Regions from separate parts of the Homo sapiens genome. Here region 2 is linked to region 1. The links are contacts of gene promoters, found by promoter capture Hi-C in human tissues and cell types (Jung and others, 2019). All regions are on one chromosome and are shown on one strand. The core of a region is centred on a gene start or on the middle of the fragment in contact, and the rest is flanking DNA. Distances in the headings are between cores, read along the strand shown. Region 1 holds the start of STEAP1 (STEAP family member 1). Region 2 overlaps GTPBP10 (GTP binding protein 10).

Region 1 (5,601 bases), core at 1,360-3,859:
ATGTTAATATGCGCTCTCACTATAGTTTAAGTTTATTACAGAATATTCTGAAAGATCCAAATTTATTGGTAACTCATGGGCGAACTCCCATTTTAAATCCTCTAGTTGTTTAGAGTCACAGCAAAACTAGCAACTTGCCTTTCAACATTTGCAATAGCATAATGTGGCTTTCCACAAGCCACACTTGTTTTTAAAAGTATGTGCTAAAGAGGCTGACTCAGCATTCTGAGATGCTCTGGCATTGTATTACCCGCCCCCACCACAAAAATTTTTTTTCTTTATCTCACACCTCAAATTACAGGTTATTTGTATGCAAAAATTGCAGATAGTTCATCTATGATACTAACTCCTGGCAACTCAATAAAAGCTTTTTAGTAATATGTTTTTCTTAATCGAATATTGTGTTTCTTTTATAATATCTACAAACTAATTGATAAATAATCTCACACTTTTAATCATTTTACTTTGGAACATACTCTATTTATTCTCCACACTAAAATATTGGGCAAAAAAACCTTTTATAAGAAGTGCAGAAATAAAATTGCTAAAGTCTAATTATAAAACAAAAATATTTGGGGTTTGATTTTAAATGTTTTAATTAGAAAAGGAAAAGCAGTTTTAAGTGCAGCTTGCTATATAGCCATATTCATATGAATATATATTATTATGTTAACACAATAATAACTCTTTGCCCTTTTCATATGGAAAATAGATTGTGAAAAACAGAATGACCTTTGTTCTACCAAATGTTAAACAATAAAAGCATATCGTTTTGTCTGACCATTTAAGACCCATGATCACTTTTAAAACTCAACAATGCTTAGTTAAAAAGTCTTAATTCTTTGTAGTCTGTGCTACACATACAAAGATTACACAGATTTCTTTTCTAAAACTTTTAAATTATTTTCTAGTTTCACTAGAAACAACAGGTGTAAGATTCTATTTCCACCACAAGGTGTCAGTCCACGGTAATTTAAGCTTCAAAGGGCTTTAAACTAATCCAAGGAAAGTCAGTGACTACAGAAAATACTTATATTAAAACATGCTTTGTTAAACGGATGCTTGAAGGCGGCATGCTAGTTAAGAGTCATCACCACTCCCTAATCTCAAGTACTCAGGGACACAAACACTGCGGAAGGCCGCAGGGTCCTCTGCCTAGGAAAACCAGAGAACTTTGTTCACTTGTTTATCTGCTGACCTTCCCTCCACTATTGTCCTATGACCCTGCCAAATCCCCCTCTGCGAGAAACACCCAAGAATGATCAATAAAAAAAAATAATAATAATTAAAAAAAAAAAAGTAAAAAAAAAAAAAAAAAAAAAAAAAAAACATGAACAGTCTTCGGTGCCCTAGCAGTGAATAAAAAACAATCATGGAAAATGTGGTTGCGCGTTTATTTTCCTTTGTGTTTTCTACTCAGCTTAGTCCTGAGAATGTTGTATACCAAATCCCCAGAATTTTGCAATTCATGTCTCAGACCCTATCTTGAGGCTGGTTCCAACGGAGAGAAGTAAATCCCCTGCTCAAGTTGTCTTTTTCTAAAACCTTGGAATATTAACAGTTAACTTTACTTTAGGTTTGGAATACTTCATTGAGCTAGGATATGGGAAGCTGCACTTAAAAGCTAAGGCAAGGAAGGGAGGGACGGAGTAAACATGGGGTTTAAGGGTTTTTTTTTCGGCTGGGGAGCAGGGTTTGTGCGATTAAAGGTACACAATTTGAACAATTCAGGGAGCAAGTCACTCTCAGAAATTCAGCTTCGGATTCCTCAAACTGTCAATCACAGCCACTTCAGGACCGGCTGTTAGGTTTTAAATAAGGTGGCTGGGCGCGGTGGCTCACGCCTGTAATCTCAGCACTTTGGGAGGCCGAGGCGGGTGGATCACGAGGTCAGGAATTCAGGACCAGCCTGGCCAAGATGGTGAAATCCCCGTCTCTGCTGAAAATACAAAAATTAGCCGGGCACAGTGGCAGGCGCCTGTAATCCCAGCTACTCGGGAGGCTGAGGCAGGAGAATCGCTTGAACCCGGGGCTGGAGGTTGCAGTGAGCCAAGATCGCGCCACCGCACTCCAGCCTGGGCAACAGACTGAGACTCCGTCTCAAAAAAAATAAAAATAAAATAAAAATAAATAAGCTAACGTGTGGGAGGGTTTGTAAGCTCTAAACGGTCTATCTCAAAGTGTGATCTGGGAATGCTTCCATATCTCATGGGAACTTGTTACAAATGAGAATCTCAGACCCCATCCCAGACATACTGAACCGGAAACTGTGGGCGGACAGCCCAACAATCGGTGTTTTAATAAGCCCCCGGGTAATCTTATACACGCTAAAGTCTGAGAACCACTGCTCTAGAGAAATGCACAAACGTTCCTTAGTGGAGATTAAACAAAAGGCGAGGGGTTGGAGGGCGCGAAACGGACCTCAGGTGCAGGGCAGACGGCATTTGAGAGGAAACTGGGAGAGGCCGGAGTGCGACTTGGGGAGTCTTAGCCTCCAAGGACGTTCCGGAACCCTGCGGACGCGGGGCGCCAGCAGGTGGCGCTGGACGCGCAACGGACAAGGAGGCGGGGCCTGCAGCTGGCTTGGAGGCTCCGCGCTCTGGAGGCTCAGGCGCCGCGTGGGGCCCGCACCTCTGGGCAGCAGCGGCAGCCGAGACTCACGGTCAAGCTAAGGCGAAGAGTGGGTGAGTCCCTTGAATCGTTCTCACTGGCCGTTTGCTCCTCGAGTCCGCCCGCGTGTCCCTGCAAGGCTGGGCGCCCGCTCCCAGTCTTGGGAGGGGTGTAGCGGGTCGCAAGCCTTCTCGTGACCTGGACAGCGGCCCTCCTGGGCGAGCGCTGCTCAATTCTCCGCTTATGCGCGGCTCTGGGGCGCGCTGCCTTCCAGCCCAGCTGGGTTGTGGCCGGGCCGGGGGTTGGGGAGAGCCAGGGACTCACAGGAAGCCTTTTCGCTAGGGGCTTAAGGTTGTGGTAGATTATTAAGTTTGTGCTCAGGTTGGATTTTGATGGCAAGTTTTTTAACGTGGCAAAGTTGCCAGAGTTTGCTGTGCATTGACGAATGACTGGTGCACAGTACTTAAAATCGTGCTACTTCTCGTCTTCGGGTTTCCTGGTAACAGAGGTTTTCATTTTTAGTCCTTAGAACACTGGCCCTACTCTTTCAGGATCTGGGTGGGGTTCAGGTTCCCTCCAAAATAGTCAATCAAGGCTTTAAATATGTAATTCTGGTCAAATCCACTGGAAGGTGTTTGTAGACATAAATTTTTTGTACACTTCCAAATTTCTTACTTTGTTACTTTTGTAAAATACATTTCCCTCCACATCCTGACGTGTAATAAAAGGTTATTCATTTAACATGAATGTTAAGCACAGAGGGAAAGCAATGCTTAAAAACAGCCCAGTGAAAAAAAAAAACAAAAAACTCGACTTCACTTAGTTAAATGTAAAACAAGTGTGCACTTGAAAGTATAAAAGGTTGGAAATGCAATGCAACCCACAGTGTATTCCAGGCATTGGGTTTCTTCATATTCTCAACTGCGGGACATAAACATGAGTAAGTTGGGCTGTGCCAACATTTAGGAACACCAGGGCAGCCATCCTGGTACAGCAAAACAGCAGTCGCATTAGAAATATGCTTCACTTTTTTTAAAAGGGGGTGAAAGAGAACTTTGGGTCGAATTCTGGAGTTCCTAACATTTTAACACCAGGTTGTTTTCTGTTATTTTTCTTTTTATGAAAAGATTTTACTGTAGAACTTAAATTTCATTTTGGTTAATGTCTGATGGAAACCAACAAATTTATTTGACTCATAGTTTATTTTCCTGGCTTATGGGCATAGAGTTGACTGTGGGCCACACAGTCAACAAGCTTCCTCACTGTCATGGGCTTTTCCTTGGCTTTGCTCTTGAGTGTGGTCTCCTTACCATGCAGACAAATGGCTGGGTAACTCTCCAGGGCCACTCTGGTTTTCCACCCAGACTCCGTTTGTAGTGGCCATCAGTCAGCAAACACTGCCAACCTGCTAGCTACCCCAGGACTGGGTCTAGAAGACAGCGCTGAGCCTTTTCCTCTACTTCCCTTCCCATGCCACCATCTGCCTGTAAAACTTTATCCTCCTCTAGGATACATCGCTCTACCATGCAGTTGAAATGCCTGCCTTCTCTCCTAGACCTCAAGGTTTTTCAGAGCAGAGGCTTTATCTCATTTAACTTTGCATTCCTCCTGCCTTACATTGTTGTTCACAATATAGTTAATGAATTCATATTGAATAAATGTAGGTGGATTTGTTAGCATCCTTACGATACTGCAACCCTCAAAGTTAAAAGATCTTCTAAACATAGTGAATTATTTCTTACATTTGATTATAGTAGGTGACACTTCCATTCCTAGCACCTCCCTCCCCCACCCCACAAACTATTATGTTGGTGATATGGTTTGGAGCTGTGTCTCTCCCTCAGATCTCATGTTGAAATGTAACCCCCAGTGAGGGAGCTGGGGTCTGGTGGGAGGTGATTGGACCATGGGAGCAGTTTCTCATGGTTTAACACCATCCCCCCTTGGTGCTGTTGTCACGTTAGTGCAGGGGTACCCAACCCCGTGGCCGCAGACTGGTATCAGTCAGTGTCCTTTTAGGAACTGGGCTGCACAGCAGGAGGGGAGTGGCAGGCCAGCGAGCATTACTGCCTGAGCTCCACCTCCTGTCAGATGAACAGTGGCATTAGATTCTCCTAAGTGCATGAACCCTATTGCAAACTGCACATGCAAGGGATCTAGGTTGTGTGCTCCTTATGAGAATCTAACTATTGCCTGATGATCTGAGGTGGAACAGTTTCACCTCAAAACCCTATCCCCCTTCCCCTACTTGGAAAAATTGTCTTCCACGAAACCAGTCCCTGGTGCCAAAAAGGTTGGGGACCACTGCGATAATGTAAGACGCCTGCTCCCACTTCACCTTCCGCCATGACTATAAGCCCTCTGAGCCCTCCCCAGAAGCAGATGTTGCCATGCTTCCTTTACAGCCTATGGAACCATGAGCCAATTAAATCTCCTTTCTTTATAATAATTACCCAGCCTCAGGTATTTCTTTATAGCAGTGCGAGAACAGCGTAATACAGTTGGTTAAGTCACCAAATGACTTGGAATAATGCTTCTTAAGGAGATAGAGTGTCATTTCCTCCAGAGCAGGCATGAGTGTCATTTCTATTTTTCCTCTTTAATGTTGGTCACAGAGTTGGGTTCATAAATACTTGATGATTGGCATATGCTTTACTCAGAATTCTTTTACATGCCAGTGGTGAACACCCAAATCACACTAACTTAAACCAAAAAAAAAGGGAATGTGTTGACTGTCTAACTGAAAAATTCAGGATCTAGTCTCAGGGGCTCTAAATACTGAAATATGCCGCCAGGACTCTTCTGTGTCTTTCTCTGCTTCTTGTTCTGCTTCCGTGTTGGCTTTCTTCTTTTCTAATGAAAACATGTTCCTTCTTAGAGCATGGAGAAAAAAGCATGGCAGGCTTATACTGTGCTATCTTAACAAAATGTTAAAGACATCTCATCTCTCTCTTCCACTTCCATATATAAATATCAGAGAATGACCAGGTT
Region 2 (5,601 bases), core at 1,337-3,836, 200 kb after region 1:
CACCACCATTAGAAGGCAAGATAACCACTATTAACCTTTTCTTGACTTTTCTAAGACTTTTCTGTGTGTTTACACAAATGCAATTATGTGCCTAAAAGTTTAGAATACAAAAATGAGAGTACAGTATTTTACAATCTGCTATTTTTACTTTTTTTCACATGTCAAAATTATTCAGAATACCTGCATAATAAATAACTATTTTGTCATTTGTCTATTTAGGTTATTGTTGATTTTTTTTTCCGATTATAACCACAGTGCAGCATTCTGTGTAGATACTATTTTACATGTTTGTTCAATTATTATTTTGATAAATTCCCAGAAGTAGAATTACTAAAACATTTGTACTAATTTTTTCTTTTATGAGCAGTTTAAGAGTAGCCAGATTTGCCTTCTATAATGTAAGTACTCTCATTTGAGGTTAGTTTTTTAAAAGCTTTGCTATTTGGTGGATTTTCTTTTTTTTTTTATAGATTCATTTTTTCTTTTTTTTTTGAGACAGAGTCTCATTCTGTTGCCTAGGTTGAGTGTAGTGGGCACTATCATAGCTCACTGCAGCCTCTACCTTTCAGGCTGAAGTGATCCTCCCACCTCTGCCTCCCAAGTAGCTGAGACTACGGGTATGTGCCACCATGCCCAGCTAATTTTTAAATTTTTCTTTTTTTGTAGAAATGGGGTCGTGCTATGGTGTTCAGGCTTGTCTTGAACTCCTGGACTCAAGAGATCCTCCTGCCTCCGCCTCCCAAAGTGCTGAGATTACAGGCGTGAGCCACCACGCCTGGCTTTTTCTACCCTATTTGTATTGTAGCAATAATCTCTTCATTTCATGGTTGCAATATTTTAGTTTCGGGTTAAAATGACCTTTGGTGGTTAGCTTAGTAACTTAAATCATTACTTAATGCCATTTTAGTGGGATATAATAGTCTAAAATGCAAAGAAATAATTAGGGATAATTTTAGTTTTTTTAAACCCCGTGTTTGACCATTTAACATCTGCGTTAACCAGAGAATTGATTGCTACTCTTCTTTGTAAACCATTTTGTGTGTATGTGTGTGTGTGTATATATACACACACACATACATACATATATATACTTTTTTTTTGGTAGAATTAGTGCACTGAAAGGCTCCAAAGGAAAAGACTGTGAAATCCCTGTGCCTGTGGGTATTTCAGTAACTGATGAAAATGGTAAAATTATAGGTGAGTGTACTATAACTCCAAAAGTTGTAAAAATGTGCACGTTTTCTAAAATGAAACAATGGAATAGCTTCTCTTGAGTTTCAGAAGATTTTTTAACTAACAATTTTAGCTACTATTCTATAAGAGAGCATTTTTAAAACTTATAAAAGTTAAATTGACTGCTAGATTTAAGATTGTTTTAAAGATGTTACAGTTCTTACTTGGTCTTAAAATATATAACTAGGCTCTTTTCAATTGTTTACTGAAGTGTTTTTCTGGGGTCAAACTTTTAATAGATTTGTAAATTGGAATTTCCTGGACTGTTTTTCTGAAAGAACAATATTACATTAATGATTCTACTTATTAATTATAGATTTGTAATTGAGAATTTCCTGGCATGTATTTTTGAAAGTAAAATATTACATTAATGATTTCACTTACTAATCTATAGATTTGTAATTTTGCATTTCTTTGCCTGTATTTCTGAAAGAAATATATTGCATTAGTGATTTCACTTATTAATCTTTGCTGTAAGTATTTCTCTCCCTCTTTTTAAGGAGAACTCAATAAAGAAAATGACAGAATTTTGGTAGCTCAAGGAGGTCTTGGTGGTAAATTACTTACAAATTTCTTACCATTGAAAGGCCAGAAACGAATAATTCACCTTGATCTAAAACTTATAGCTGATGTAGGCCTAGTAGGGTAAGTATCGTTCATATTTTTATTATTATACTTTCAGAGAGAGAGTTCTTGAATAGAAAATAAATGTAAATGGTAATTTGGGGCCATAATTATTTCTAATTTATGGAATTTGTGTGTTGTGTATGTACTTGGAAAATATGCTGCTAAATATTATTTTCAAATTGCCAACACAGAGTTTCATAGTTATTGCTTATTTATAAAATTAAGACCAGAGCAATTGAATAGATCAGTGGGAATGTTAGAGAATGCATAAAGAAAGAAAAATCAATCAAATGCAATATTACAAGATGGTTAAATAATGTTACCAGATATTAATAATAAATCCAAACAAACCGTATTATTATTAAAAATATATAGAAGGAAATAAACAGGGAAAAATGGTTGACATAACTCTTTTGGGTCTTAATAGAGACATTAAAGTATCGTTAATCAAATGGCTAAAGACCAGTACAGACAATCTCAATCCTCAGACTTACGCACTGTTGCCGCCAAATTGAATCCTGCTATGACTGTATATCCTTCTTGCCTCTGCTTAGGATCTATCTAGTCTCAGCAATGTAGGCCTCACAAGAGTGTCCTCTTCCACCAGCCTCCATTCTTTCATTAAATAATGCTGTTTAGCTGTGGGGTTTGCAGTGCAGCTGCCCACTGGAAGGGGATAGATAGTAAGATACAGAATACATAAAGGAAGAGAAAACTTCAATTTGCATTTGCTCTCTCTCCCCCATCCCCCCTCCCTCCTATCCTCTCCCTCTGGCCCTATCACAGTATTACACAGTTATTCAGATGGAAAGCTTAAGGACAAGATAAGGAAAACTGCCTTATTACTGTCCTACTCCAAATTCCTAGTTCTATTTTTTGCTTCCCCATAGCTTCTTTCTAAGTTCTTTTCATGTTCCTCTTCAGTCATCTCACTGCTTCTTTACCAGACTCTTAAGTCTGTATCCCTCGTCTTTTGCCCTGCCTGACCAGCCACTAGAGCTTACCACCATTGGTTTAGGGTTCACAGAGGCCCCATTCCTGCTAAAATTATAACAAGGAAAGATGTGATCCTGGCTTGCCATTTACATTTATTTTTTTCAATAAAGCACAGTTACAAGAGTTATTAGATGTAAGTTCTATAATCCTCTATATTTTTAGGAACATTATGGGCTTAATAGGGTCTTATGGACAAGACTGGCAGTCCAGCCAATCACAGTTGCATTTTGCATAAACATGTGTTTCAAGTTCTGAAGAGACAACTTTACAGTCTAAGAGGAGCCTAGCACGGCTTAGTCATAAAAGTGGAGTGGCATGGAGGACTCAGGTTAGACTATTTAGGTTAGGATCTCAAATCCTCTGGAGGCTGGCCAGCTGGTCTTGGGTAAATTACACAGCCTCTCTAAGCCTTTGTTTTCTCTTCTTTTTTTCTTTTCTTTTCTCTCATTCTTCCTTCACTATAGTTTTTTGCTTTTCACCACGTCATTTGTTTTCTCATCTTTAATAGTGTATGGAGATAAGTCTTTCCTTAAAATGTTGGTGGGTAAGATAATGCATTTACAGCAGAATACATGCTTTGCATTTTTGTACGTTCAATGAATTGTAGCTGCTATCTTCATCATCATTATATTGCCAACTTACTGGAAAACTGCATATAATGAAATACTAGGCTTTTCAGAAGTAGGTTTGAAATTTGTCTGTAATTAAAGCATCAAGATTCTTAAGCATATCAAACAAGAATGGGGGAAAAAGATTTTTAAGTGGAATGTTTAACATATTTTCTAGTGTTTTTAAATTAGGCAACTATTCTTGAAGAGTTACTACTATGAATACTAGCATAAGTAGATATCCTTTTAGCTGGTTTTGGAAATGGACTGAATCACAGAAGAAAGTTATTGTACAACTAACAGATTTGTGCTGCTGTTGTCAGATCTGATCTTTGCATAGGTTGGATTTTAGCCTGTAAAATTTTCACTGGGTACTTTTCAAGAAAAATTTCAAATATCTGTTATTCAGTCATTAGCATCATCTTTCTATTCATACTTTGATCTTCTTGGAAATAGTTGCTTGCATTATGTGCTCAATCATTATGAAAATATGAGGATGTTGGAAACAAGCAAGTCCAGCTAGTGATAATTATGGATAAAAACAGCTGCAATTTGCTTTTCAAAAGCTATAAGAACCTGGATGAAACAGGGTATGAAAAAACTATATGTTCCAGGAGAAACAAGTCATTAAGAAACCTCACATAATTTTATTTTAAATTCATGACAGAAAGATTTTTTTAATGAGGGAAATTGTTGAAATACCTCCAGCTAATACGCTTTTATAAAATTCCAAATTAATATTTGCAGAATATTCCACCATTATTCCAAATGAAAGTTTGGCAGAGTTTTTGAAGTACCGTCTTCAAATTTGAATAAGAACTCTGTGAAGGCGGGAATCATTTTGTCTCATTGCTCAGTATGTTGCCTGATACGAAGTCAGTGCTCAATAAATATTTGTTGGATAAATTTAATGAAAATATATGAATGAGATTTAGCAATGAATGTTTTAAGTAACCCCCATTCCTAGTACTGTCTTTCATACATGGTGGGCCTTTCTTGAGGGAAATTTAGCAGTATAATCAAAGCCTTTAAAATGAGCATGTATTTTATCTGGTATTTCTTCATGTAGACATTTATTCCAAGAAAGAAATCAAAGATGTGTGCAAAGAGAAGTCTTAGCCAGAACAATCAGGCAAGAGAAAAAAAGGGCATTCAAATTGGAAAGAAGGAAGTCAAACTATCTGTTTGCCCACCATATGATCTTATACCTTGAAAACCCTAGAGACTCCTTCAAAAGACTCCTAGATTTGATAAATGAATTCAGTATACTCTCAGGTTACAAAATCAGTATACACAAATCAATAGCACTGCTATACACCAACAACAACCAAGCTGAGAATTAAATCAAGAACTCAATCCCTTTTACAATAGCTACAAAAAATAAAATACCAAAGAATATACGTAACCAAGGTCGAGAAAGATCTCTACAAGGAGAACTACAGAACACTGCTGAAAGAAATCATAGATGACACAAACAAATGGAAATACATCCAAAGCAATCCTAAGCAAAATGAACAAATCTAGAGGAATCATATTACCTGACTTCAAATTATATTACAAGGTTATAGTAACCAAAACAGCATGGTATTGACAGAGAAGTAGGTACTTAGACCAATGGAACAGAATAGAGAACCCAGAAATAAAACCAAATACTTAAGACCAACTGATCGTCAACAAAGCACACAAAAACATAAACTGGGGAAAGGATACCCTATTCAAAAAATGATGCTGAGAAAATTGGATATCCAAATGTAGAATAATGAAACTGCATTCATATCTCTCATTATATACGAAAATTAAGATAGATTAAAGATTTTAATCTAAGACCTGAAATTATAAAAATTCTACAACACTTAGGAAAAACCCTTCTGGACATTGGCCTAGACAAAGAATCTGTGACTAAGATCTCAAACCAAATGCAACAAAAATACATAAGTGGGACCTAATTAAAGTAAAAGTCTTGTGCACAGCAAAAGAAAGAATCAACAGAGTAAACAGCCTACAGAATGGGAGAAAGTATTTGCAAACTACGCATCTAACAGAGGACTAATATACTGAGTCTGCAAGGAACTCAGATCAGCAAGGAAAAAACAATTCCGTTAAAAAGTGGACAAATGACATGGACATTTCTCAAAAG

Evidence for each region. The method cuts DNA at HindIII sites, captures the fragments that hold promoters and counts their contacts. A contact is called where the count stands out against the background at its distance.
Region 2: a fragment that was not itself captured here is called in contact with the fragment with the promoter of STEAP1 in region 1 in 1 of the 25 tissues and cell types used here (aorta).

The regions. Positions count from the first base shown.
Region 1 is chr7:90,151,860-90,157,460 of GRCh38, forward strand. It overlaps STEAP1 (STEAP family member 1), which reads left to right and starts at 2,610. Exons shown (of 5, transcript NM_012449.3): 1 at 2,610-2,684. All of the region lies in intron 2 of STEAP2-AS1 (STEAP2 antisense RNA 1), which reads right to left. RefSeq lists an enhancer at 826-1,366. The HindIII fragment of the contact is 4,545 bases long and covers 673-5,217 here.
Region 2 is chr7:90,353,353-90,358,953 of GRCh38, forward strand. GTPBP10 (GTP binding protein 10) reads left to right here. Exons shown (of 10, transcript NM_033107.4): 3 at 1,106-1,197; 4 at 1,734-1,878. It overlaps LOC107986715 (a long non-coding RNA gene), which reads right to left. Exons shown (of 4, transcript XR_001744961.2): 1 at 2,355-5,601. Among named protein-coding and RNA genes, the nearest start is that of GTPBP10, 9.4 kb to the left of the region's middle. The HindIII fragment of the contact is 5,652 bases long and covers 1-5,412 here.